2 separate regions of the Homo sapiens genome follow, and region 2 is linked to region 1. The links are contacts of gene promoters, found by promoter capture Hi-C in human tissues and cell types (Jung and others, 2019). All regions are on one chromosome and are shown on one strand. The core of a region is centred on a gene start or on the middle of the fragment in contact, and the rest is flanking DNA. Distances in the headings are between cores, read along the strand shown.

Region 1 (5,164 bases), core at 1,297-3,796:
TGGCCCCAGCCACAGCCATCTGTCCAGCTTCCAGCAAACAGGCCAGCCTGGGCGCTCACTTGACACTAAGGAAAACTCGTGCTACTTGAAAACGTCAGAGCTGGAATGACAACAAGAGCGGCTACTATGTTCACAGTCACAGGTGCATCCTCTCAAGGTGGAGACTGCCATTACCACCTATTTACAAAGGAGGAGGCAGAGGCTAAGCGGCCAGCCGAGGTCACAAGCTAGCGGCTTCAAACCCAGCCTGACTGCAGGCCACTTGCTCTTCCCTGCACTAGGCCTTCCACTCCCTGGCTCCTAGGAGACCTCAGATCTCCCCTTCACTCTACACACCTTCCAGAAAACCAGCCCCCCAGTGAGTCATGGCCAACCTGCCCACTATTTCTCTGGAGAGCCTGTGTGCTATAGCTCAGGCCTACTGCCCCGTGGAAGATTCCCCTGCAACCCCTCGCTGACATTCTAACTCAGCTGAGCTCGGTTTGTCTTTGGTGATGGACGAAGGGCACATTCATTCATTCGTTCCACTCATATCAAAGTGCCTATGGGTGCCTGGTCGACCCCAAGTCTGGGGAGGGAGCCACGCCCTGGAAGATCAACTTTGCCCAAAGCTACATCAGAAATCAGAGCCTTAGACTCTGAATTCCAGCGAAGTTACCTCTTTCCACATGGGTGCCTGGTGCCCACAGGCAAGCCACTGACTTCAGGGACTGTGTAGTCAGTGCTCAGATGAGGCATCTGGTTGACCTGGCTGGCCTCCCAGCAGGCCAAAGATGAGATGGGCCCGGGTTGGGAGGGGGAAGCGCTTGTGCAGCAGGCTGTTTTGGGCCTGGCTCCACCCCAAGGCTCCTGCGGCCCTGGGCCTGCTTCCCAAGCACTCAGGAATGGAGACTGTGCTGAGAGTGGGGCCTCCCCTTCCCTCTCACGACGTGTCTGCCCCCGCACCGGCCAGGCGCTCAGCAGGCAGGAGTCACTATTCATTCACTTGATCCACCCCCACAGAGCAGAACCAGAATTACTTCTCAGCATGGTGCACAGATGGCCCCGCCAGGACAGGGTCCCGCCCCCACCCCCAAACTTCCCCGCCCTAGGCCTTGGGCCTAAGGGGTCTGGGAGGGAGAGGGAGTTTGGAATGGAGACTCCTCCAGTTCCTGCTCCTAGCCAAGCTTCCCAGTCCGTGTGGCTGCTTCTCCCTCCCTCTCATCAGAACCTAACCCCAGGCACAGTTATTGTGCAATTGGACCCAGGCCCAGCACCCAACAGTCTACAGAGCCCTTAGCAGCCGCACAGTATCTGCAAATGTTTCCTGAGCCCTCAGCCCCAGCCAGCTCTAACAGACTGAAGCTTGGGGGCCAGGCACTTTGGGTGGCTCGAGCCTGTAATCCTAGCAGTTTAGGAGGCCCGAGGGAGGAGGGTCGCTTGAGCCCAGGAGCTCGAGGCCAGCCTGGGCAACATGACGAGTCCACATCTCTGATAAATTTTTAGAAAGAAAAGAAAATGAAAAGGAAGCTTGGGAATCTGGAGGCTGAGCCAAGGCCTCACCAGCTCTCCCCATCACTGGGTTTGTGCTTGCTGGGAGCGGGAGGATCAAAGCCCAAGTCCCCTAGGTCTTGATCTACCCCTGGGGAGAGAACAGGTCTGTTCCTGCCCTGAGACCTGCAGCCTGACTCGGCTGCTCGGGAGTGGACTCTCCACTTCTCAGAGAAGAATACTGAGGCCAGGCCAGCCCTCCTCAGGAACAGCCCTGGCCGCCTGGGAGAGGAGTTTCCTCTCTTTCACAATGACCCTGCCTCCCTGGAGGGCGCAGCCGCCCAGGGGCCAAAGGCAACAGCAGCCCGAATAGAAAATATTCCTGGCACTGCCCCTCCCACAGAGCCCAGCCCAGGCCAGCAGGAAACCCCGCCGCGAGGCCGCCAGCCCCACCGGGGAGGGCCAGGTGGCTGCCGCCCCCTGCAGGGAAGGGAGCCAGGGCCACCATGCCCATCTGTCCAGGGTAAACTGAGGCTGCGGGGAAAGCGATACGTCCAAGCCCCAGAGGGGCTGGACTCCTGGTTTTACGCAGAGAAATAGAGGTGGAGACAGACGGCGAGTCCGAGAGAGGGAGAGAGAATCGGGAGCCCCCCCACACGCTCCGGACTCCCCAGGTCTCCATGTGGGGGCTTCACGACACAGAGGAAGCCGGATCCGACAAGGAGTCCAGAAAGGACCCGGCTGCGCAGGGAACAAATAACCCGAGCCGCTCTTCGGACCCGGGGACTCGCGCCCCCGGGGACTCGCGCCCCCGCCGCGTCCCCCACGCTCCAGAAACCTGGAATCCGGTGCCAGGCGTTTGAGCATCGGGAGCCCCTTCCCTCCTGCCTCGGTCCCAGTCCCCGGCGAGTGGCGATCGGGGTCCGCCCTCTGCCTCCGCGGGCCCCGGGGCGGGCGTCTTCTACGCCTCCTCCTCTGGGCCCGGGAAGCGGGTGCTCTCGGCTAGGGAGTGGGCAGCGAGAGGGGCCGAGGGCTCCTTACCGGGCTCGGGCAGCGGTGGCAGGCGGCAGAGCAGGACTGGCAGGGGTGCCCATCCCAGGTTATAAGCACAGGGCCCGGGGGCAGGGCCGGTGACCGGGGACACGTGGCGGGGACGCGCGCCACAGACCCCGCCCCCGGGCCCGGCCCCCGCCTGGAGCCGCTCAGCGTTCACAGCCACCTGCAGATGGGCGGGGCCCGCCTCCCCAGGCCTCGTCCCCACCTCCCCCCGCCTCCCACCAGGTCCGGGCCTGGGCCCGGCGCCGGCTCACCCTCCCAGGGGCGCGCCGGCGGGGGCGCAGGCGGCTCGCGGTTCCTGGCCCTGGCCCGCGGGCTGGAGGCGCCAAGGAGGGCGGCAGTGGCTGCGACCCATGTAACTCAGGGGCGGAGGGTGGCCGCAGCCGTCCTTCGAGAGACTTGCCTCCTGGCCCTGGGGAAGCAATTTAAACGCTTCGCGGTGGGAGCCGGGATAAAAGTTCCACTGGCGCAGGGAGCTTCGTGCTCACTTCTATCCGGTGCCGGCAGCCTGGGCCTTCTGCAGCCCCCAGAGCCCCCTCCCTCCCCAACCATAGCCTCTGGTAGCCGAGTAAGGATGAGAAAACCGAGGTGAGCCGGCGCGGGAAGGCCCGGCTTTCATCCCTTAGGCCAGGGCTGATTGCTGGCCTGTCTTCTCAGAGCCTGGCACCTGCCCAGACTCCAGAGGGCACCCAGTAAGCAGTGAGTAAAAGACTGTCTGGCTGCGAACCCACTAGACAGGAGGGAAGGTTGAGGTTCAGAGAGAAGTCTCTTGCTTGTAAAAAGCAGCTGGGAGTTGTGACCCCAGGCCCGCCTTCAACAGCTTCTCTACCTCAGGAGTTTCCCAGCTTGGTCTGCCGGCTCCAAAGCCCTGATCACTGCAACCACAGCCCCAGTAAAAGAGCAAGTCCTGGGACCCCATCCAAGGCAGTTGCTCCATAGTGAGCACTGACCCCAGAAGGGAGGACTCCCGGTCCTCAGCCGGCTCTGAACCTGGGGGAGGTGGGAGCCCCAAGCCTTGCCCAGCCGCTACCCTGGAGTCAGTGCTCCTTTTAATCACCATCCACTCTCAGCCCCTCTGCCAGTCAGCCCCCACCACCCCCTCAAGCCCATGGCAAGCAACAGTAGCTGTGAGTCCTTCTAGAAGGAAAAAAGGATCAAACCAATTCACAAACAAAGCCACAGCTCGATTCTCTCTTAAGCCCCTTAGTTCTCTGACACTTAAACCTGGGATGTGGCCCTTGATGGCAAAGGGGCCCCTGGTGAGCCACGTGGGGCTGGGTGTACATGGGTGGCTTGAGGCCCCTTCTAGATGGGAGGCGGTATCACAGCTGGCCCCCCTCAGCCCTCTCACAGGAGCAGCTGGGGGTCTCGTGGAGTCTCTGGGCCTCCCACACTAGCAGGAGGCAAGTGAGGAACACCTACACAATGACACCCTTGCAGCAGTTGTGTGTCCTTGGGGCGGTCACTCCCCACTGCAGCCTGTTTTCTCATTGGTAGGGTCGCCCTGGAAAGAGCAAGCATTCTGTTTTCACCTTCACGACTACCCTGTATGAAGTACCTGTGATTGTTATCTCAATGGTATGGGCAGAAACCTGCTGCACAGAATGACGGTGTATCTTTCCCAAGGCCACACAGCATGTGAGTGGCAGAGCGGAGCTAGAATCCAGTGTCTGAAGCTCTGGCTCAAACCCTCTGCTTTAGCTCCAGCCTGAGCTGAACTGAGGTCACAGTCCCAGGGTCACAGGCTGCTGGGACCTTTACTCCTTGCCGCAGAAATGGTTCCAGCCTAGGGGACAGACCCTTCCTAACTCACATGCACCAGTGACATGAGGGACAGTGAGGTCACAGCGCTCCTGAGAAGAAAACAGGGGCCCAAACTGCCAGCAGCACCCCGCCCCCCACCCCCACCGTCCTGCCACCAACAGCAGGGTGAGTGGTTGCCCAGAGGCAGAGACCAAGGTGAGGGAGGACTGGCCAGCTTCTGAATGAGCCCCATTCTGCCTGGACCCCTCCATCGGCCAGGGGGACCTTCAACCCTGCCCTGGCCCTTACCCTGCAGAGCAGTGCTGAGGGCCAAAGTGGGGCGTGGCCCAAAGGGATTCCCCCACCTGAGACTGGGGCACCATGGCCTTTGACTTTCATCTTACCCCCTGCCCACACCTAGGTCAGGGGTCCTCCAGGAGCCTTTGCACCTTCTAGGTAAGTGATCTTGGTGGCATTCCTAAAAACAAAGCAGCACCTAGGCCTGAGCAGGTGGAGAAACAAAGGCACTGGGATCTGAGACACTCATACCTTCCTTTTTTTTTTTTTTTTTTTTAATTTGGAGTCTTGCTCTGTCACCCAGGCTGGAGTACAGTGGCACCCTCACTGCAGCCTCTGCCTCCCCGGTTCAAGCAATACTCCTGCCTCAGCCTCCTGAATAGCTGGGACTACAGGCCCGCCACCACACCAGGCTAATTTTTGTATTTTAAGTAGAGACGGGTTTTCACCATGTTGGCCAGGCTGGTCTTGAACTCCTGACCTCAGGTGATCAACCCACCTCCGCCTCCCAAAATGCTGGGATTACAGGTGTGAGCCACCGTGCCCAACAACATTCATATCTTCTAAATATATCAAGTCTGCCCCTTTCTCTCCACTT
Region 2 (5,164 bases), core at 203-2,702, 62 kb after region 1:
TCCAAGTCCAGGCCTGCGATTCGTGGCGGGACTATCCCCACAGCCACCACGGTAGAGAAAGGCATGAGAATCACACCAGCAGGGGAGCACAGAGCCCAAGAGAAACCCTGAGCCTCACCCAGCTCCTGGGGCTTCACCTCGGCACAACTTCAAATAATTCAGAAACCTCCATTTGCCATGACTCTCTTACACAGAAGGACACTGGGTAGGGGATCAGAGAGGGAGAGTCACTGTTCCAAGGCCACACAGCTGGTCAGTGGCAGAGCTAAGATATCAATTCAGGTTTGAGCCCATGACCTTGAGGGCTCAACACTATCTTCCTCCATCTCCAAGACCATCTGGAGACAGAACTCACAGCCACTGCAGTGCGGTGTACGTCATGAGTTGCAGAGGTTAGGAGTGCAGGCTCCGGGACAGTGAGACCCCCCCAATCCCACTCCTCTCTGAGGGCGACCTCCCTGAGTCTCCTCCCACAGCTGCAAAGCTGGGTGGGCTAACCTAGCTCTGCTGGAAGGAGTCAGCCCAGGGAAAGTGCTCAGCCTCGTGTCAGGTACACAGTAAGTGCTCAGTAATGGTGGTGGTAATGCCTGGCCATCTCCAAAGTTGCTTAAAACCACCTGGGGTTGGCCCAGTAGTGATCAGGGCCCCCCAAATGCTCTCTGTCTCGGGATGTGGCTGGGGCCAGCTGGGATCCCTGAACTCTGATTGCAGGACCCAGAGCCCAGGATACTGGAAGCCCCAAGGCAGTGCCCCCTGGGAAGGGAAAAGGAACCCACAGGGGCTGCCTGCTCAGCCCAGCTCACCTTGAACCCTGAGGGTGAAGAGCTTCTCAGCGGAGCCCGCCTGGTTCTCGGCCACACACATGTAGCTGGCGGCGTCGGCCACCTCTGCCGTGGAAACCTGTGGGTGCAGGGAGCCATGCCTGGGAGATACCTGAGACCCCTTGGACACCACCACCCCCAGGAATGACTGCGAGGAATCCCTCCCATCCCATGCCAGGGAAGCAGGCACCAGGCAGCTCATGGAGACCTGGAACCTCCTCCATCCAGGGCCTTGTGTGGCGCTCAGGAGCGGGCGTGTGAGGTTGGTGTTGGGTGGTTCTCTGTAGCAAACCAGATGTGACAAGAGCCTCCCCCACCCCTGTGGAGGGCCGTGCTGTGTGTGTTGGGCTCCCAGGGTCCCCGCAGCTCTGTGTCTGCACATGGGGTGACTCAGGGGGCTGCCTGATGTCTGAGTGCTGGGCACGGCTCTGCACGCGCCAGCTGGTGATCCCGCGGAAGGCTGCTGTGTGCGGTGCTGGGCTCTGGGTCCCGCACCCATGTGCATCCTTTGCTAGGTGTCTCCTGAAGCTCTGGATGCCGTGCACAGGCCTGTGCTGGCCCAGCATGCCTCCTCACAGGTGATTCTTGGCTGGGCTCCAGCATGGTTCCCAGCAAAGAGCCTCATTTGCAGATAATGACCCCTCCCTGGCTCCCAGACAAGTGGTGCTGGGCCTCAGCAGCCACTGCCCCTAGCCCGTGCAGGGGGCTGCCCTGACCTGCAAGACTTGCCCGTCCTCCAGGACCTGCAGCCGTGGGCTCGGGGAGAAAGGCAGCCCATTCTGGAGCCATGAGATGGTGGGCACGGGGTTTCCCAGGGCCGGGCACTGCAGGCTGACGGTGCTGCTGGCATTGACTGTCACCTCTTCCACCAGCTCCTCTGTGTCACCCAGGATCACAGGTGGGGCTGGGGGTGGGGGAGAGGGGGCTGAGGGGCTGGCACAGGTCCCTGGGGGCGGGGGTGGCCGTGGAGGCGAGAGTGGCACTTGGTGTCAGGTGCTGGTCGGGATCCTCATGCCCTTCTCTCCAAGCCCTCCCAATCCCTGATGCAGCTAAGGAATCGGGGGCACAGAAAGGGTTGTGATTTGCTCAATGTCACACAGCTAGGAAGCTTCTGACTTGGAACCTGCGCCCAGTCCTGCATGATTCTTTGAGGCCGAGCATGTAACTCCAATTTCAACCTCTGAGTACAGCAAGACTGTGTGCACTTTGCCTCGGCCCCTTCTGAGGGAGGCCCTTACGGCGCTTGCAGTCCCGGGAATCCCCACCTGCAGGCCCCGCCACTCACTCAGCACCAGCAGCTCGTAGTGCAGCCAGTCCTCGCCCACCTCGTTGGAGGCCTTGCACGAGTACCTCCCGGCGTTCTCTGCCCGCACCAGGGGGATCTGCAGGACCCGGCCTCCTGCAGGGACACGGGACAGAGGCCTGGGCTCAGGCACGAGAGTCACCCCCAAGAGCAAAGACGCTGCCCCCTCCTCTGGAGTGGACCTGGGACATGTGACTGTCCCTGCCTCATCTGTGAAATGAGGAGAATCGGCCTGTCCTGCCCAGCTCACGGGTGGAGTGGAGTCAAGTCAGGGTACAGCCACCACTCGCTGCGTGCCAGGCCCTGGGCTGCACATTCTCGGCCTGTCCCACAGTGCCTCTGTGGGGCACACGCTGTTGTCACTCCCATCTTACAGATGGCAAACCTGAGCCTTCATGGCAGTGCTGGGGGTGACAGCAGTGGTTGCTGGCTCAGCTCTGCTGTTGTGCTGAGCCCAGCTCCTTGGTAAGGGCAGAGTCCAAGCAGAGACTCAGGAGGCAAGGGAGGCAACTCCTGGGGCTGTGGTGGTTGGCGGGGGTAGAAGTAGGGGTAGGGGCTGGGGAGGCATCGCCTGGGACCCTCTGTGATCAAAAGCCAGCCAGGGGCCAGGCACAGTGGCTCTCGCCTACAATCCTACAATCCCAGCACTTTGGGAGGCCAAGGCAGGTGGATCACCTGAGGTCAGTAGTTCAAGACCAACCTGGCCAACACGGCGAAACCCCATCTCTACTAAAAATACAAAAATTCCCCGGGTGTGGTGGTGCACACCTGCAATCCTAGCTACTCAGAAGGCTGAGGTAGGAGAATCACTTAAACCCAGGAGGCAGAGGTTGCAGTGAGCCAAGACTGCCACTGCACTGTAGCCTGGGCAACAGAGTGAGACTCTATCTCAGAAAAAAAAAAAGAGCCATCCAAGGCCAGAGCCTGGCATCTATGGGGGCTGGCGTTGGTCTCCAGTGGGGGCCTGGTTAGGGTTACTGTGTGCTCAGAATTCTAGGCTGGGGCTGGCCGGCCCGGGCTGTGGGTAGCTTGACCAGGTTAAGAGCCTGCAGAGCCCAGTGGCCAGGATTGAGGCAGCAGTGGCATTGTAGGGGTCAGTTGATGTTTGAGGTCAGTGTAAGGTCAGGGTAAGAATTCAGGTCAGCCGTGACCATGACGCCTATTTTCTCAGGATTAGAGAACAGAGGTTAGAGGTCAGTTGTCAGGGTGAGAGGTGAGTGGTAGGGTTGGAGGTAAGTGGGCAGGACTGGGGGGCAGTTGGTGGCTGTGGTCTGGGTTCAGCTATTGGTTGGGATTAGCTGATGGTTAGAGTCTGATCGGGATCAGCAGGTCAGAGCCTACTGTGCACCCAGGACTTGGGGTCAGGATCAGTGGTCAGTGGCCAGGTTAAGGGGTCTGTCCAGAGGTTTCTAATAGGAACTAACAGTGTTCAGTAAGAGTTGCACTCCTGGATCTGCAAGAGGCCTCCTTCTTTTTTTTTTTTTTTTCTTTTTTTGAGATAGTCTTGATCTGTCACTCAGGCTGGAGTGCAGTGGTGTGATCACGGCTCACTGAAGCCTTGACCTCCTGGGCTTAAGGGATTCTCCTTCTTCAGCCTCTTGAGTAGCTGGGACCACAGGTACATGCCACCACGCCCAGCTAGTTTTAAAATATTTTGTACAGACGGGGTCTCACGATGTTGCCCAGGCTGGTCTTGAATACCTGGGCTCAAGCGATCCTCCCACCTCAGCCTCCCAAAGTGCTGGGATTACAGGTGTGAGCCACGGCGCCCAGCCACCTCCTTTTCTTGCAAGCACCAAAGTAGAAATCCTGGTCTGATTCTGCTCATTGGAGACCTGTGCAACTGACCACTTCTCCCCAAAACCAGCCCCATTGCCGGCCCATCTCTGGCAGGACACAGTTCGAATCTCAAACAGAGAGACCACCCACGCTTCCCTCATGAGCCAGGTGGGCCGGGCATTTCTAAGCCCCACCCCTGGAGCCTTTTAAGTCAAAATCACCTACAAAAAATTATTCTAAAATAAAAGGTTTACTTAAAAAAATTAAATTACCTTAAATAAACAAATACCTCTTAAGGTGGTGAAAGAAAAAACAAAACCTGGCTGAGCGTGGTGGCTCACGCCTATAATCCCAGCATGTTGGGAGGCCGATCCGAGACGGTGGATCACCTGAGGTCGGGAGTTTGAGACCAGGCTGGCCAACATGGAAAAACCCCATCTGTACTAAAAATACAAAAAGTAGCCAGGCGTGGTGGCGCATGCCTGTAATCCCAGCTACTTGGGAGGCTGAGGCAGGAGAATCACTTGAACCCAGGAGGTGGAGGTTGCAGTGAGCCAAGGTTGCACCATTGCACTCCAGCCTGGGCAACAAGAGCGAAACTCTGTCCCAAAAAATAAAAATAGAAAAAAATAGAAAAAAAACCCAGACACAAAAGACATGAGTTCAGCCACCACAGTGTGCCCTTCAATGCCCAGCTAGAGCTTCGTCAGCGTTTGGGGTCATGAGCTTTGTTGACGATTAACAAAGAAGCCAGCTGCCTCTGCAGAGAAAGTGGCAGCTTCTGCCGATCATTTAAGGACATTACAGATCTTGAAGCCCAGAAGGGCATGCCCCATGATAGGAGGCTCTGCTCTATAAACCAGAGGCAAAAGGCAATCCAGTCTTTGCCTTCACACAGGCAAAGAACTTGTAGCCCCAGTTTACAAATTGCAGCTAAGGTCCAGAGTGGTTGTGTGCTCTGCTTAAGGTCACACAGCAGGCAGCACACAGGAGAGCTCAAAGCGCCCACTTTCTTCACGCACCCCTGACCCACCTTGCAGCACAGACACCTCATCCCCGGCCGAGAGGGGCTGATCCTCTCTGTACCAGGTGAGGTCCGGGGGTGGGATCGCGTTGGTGTCGCAGTACAGGTAGGCTGGGTTGTTCTCCACGATCTCCCTGTATTCCGTGACTCCGCCCCGGGCCTCCTCCTCCCGGGACAGGATCTCGAAGGCTGCACTGAAATCACCCACCTTCTGGAACATGGGGGGCACTGGGTGGG

Evidence for each region. The method cuts DNA at HindIII sites, captures the fragments that hold promoters and counts their contacts. A contact is called where the count stands out against the background at its distance.
Region 2: a contact is called between a fragment that was not itself captured here and the fragment with the promoter of ASS1 in region 1, in 1 of the 25 tissues and cell types used here (bladder).

What each region holds. Positions count from the first base shown.
Region 1 is chr9:130,442,343-130,447,506 of GRCh38, reverse strand. ASS1 (argininosuccinate synthase 1) reads right to left here and starts at 2,546. Exons shown (of 15, transcript NM_054012.4): 1 at 2,512-2,546. RefSeq lists enhancers at 1-406, 1,076-1,743 and a silencer at 2,624-2,743. The HindIII fragment of the contact is 13,908 bases long and covers 1-5,164 here.
Region 2 is chr9:130,379,240-130,384,403 of GRCh38, reverse strand. HMCN2 (hemicentin 2) reads right to left here. Exons shown (of 98, transcript NM_001291815.2): 54 at 4,937-5,155; 55 at 2,107-2,220; 56 at 1,538-1,725; 57 at 804-900; 58 at 1-31. Among named protein-coding and RNA genes, the nearest start is that of ASS1, 63 kb to the left of the region's middle. RefSeq lists an enhancer at 1,871-2,786. The HindIII fragment of the contact is 4,474 bases long and covers 1-3,689 here.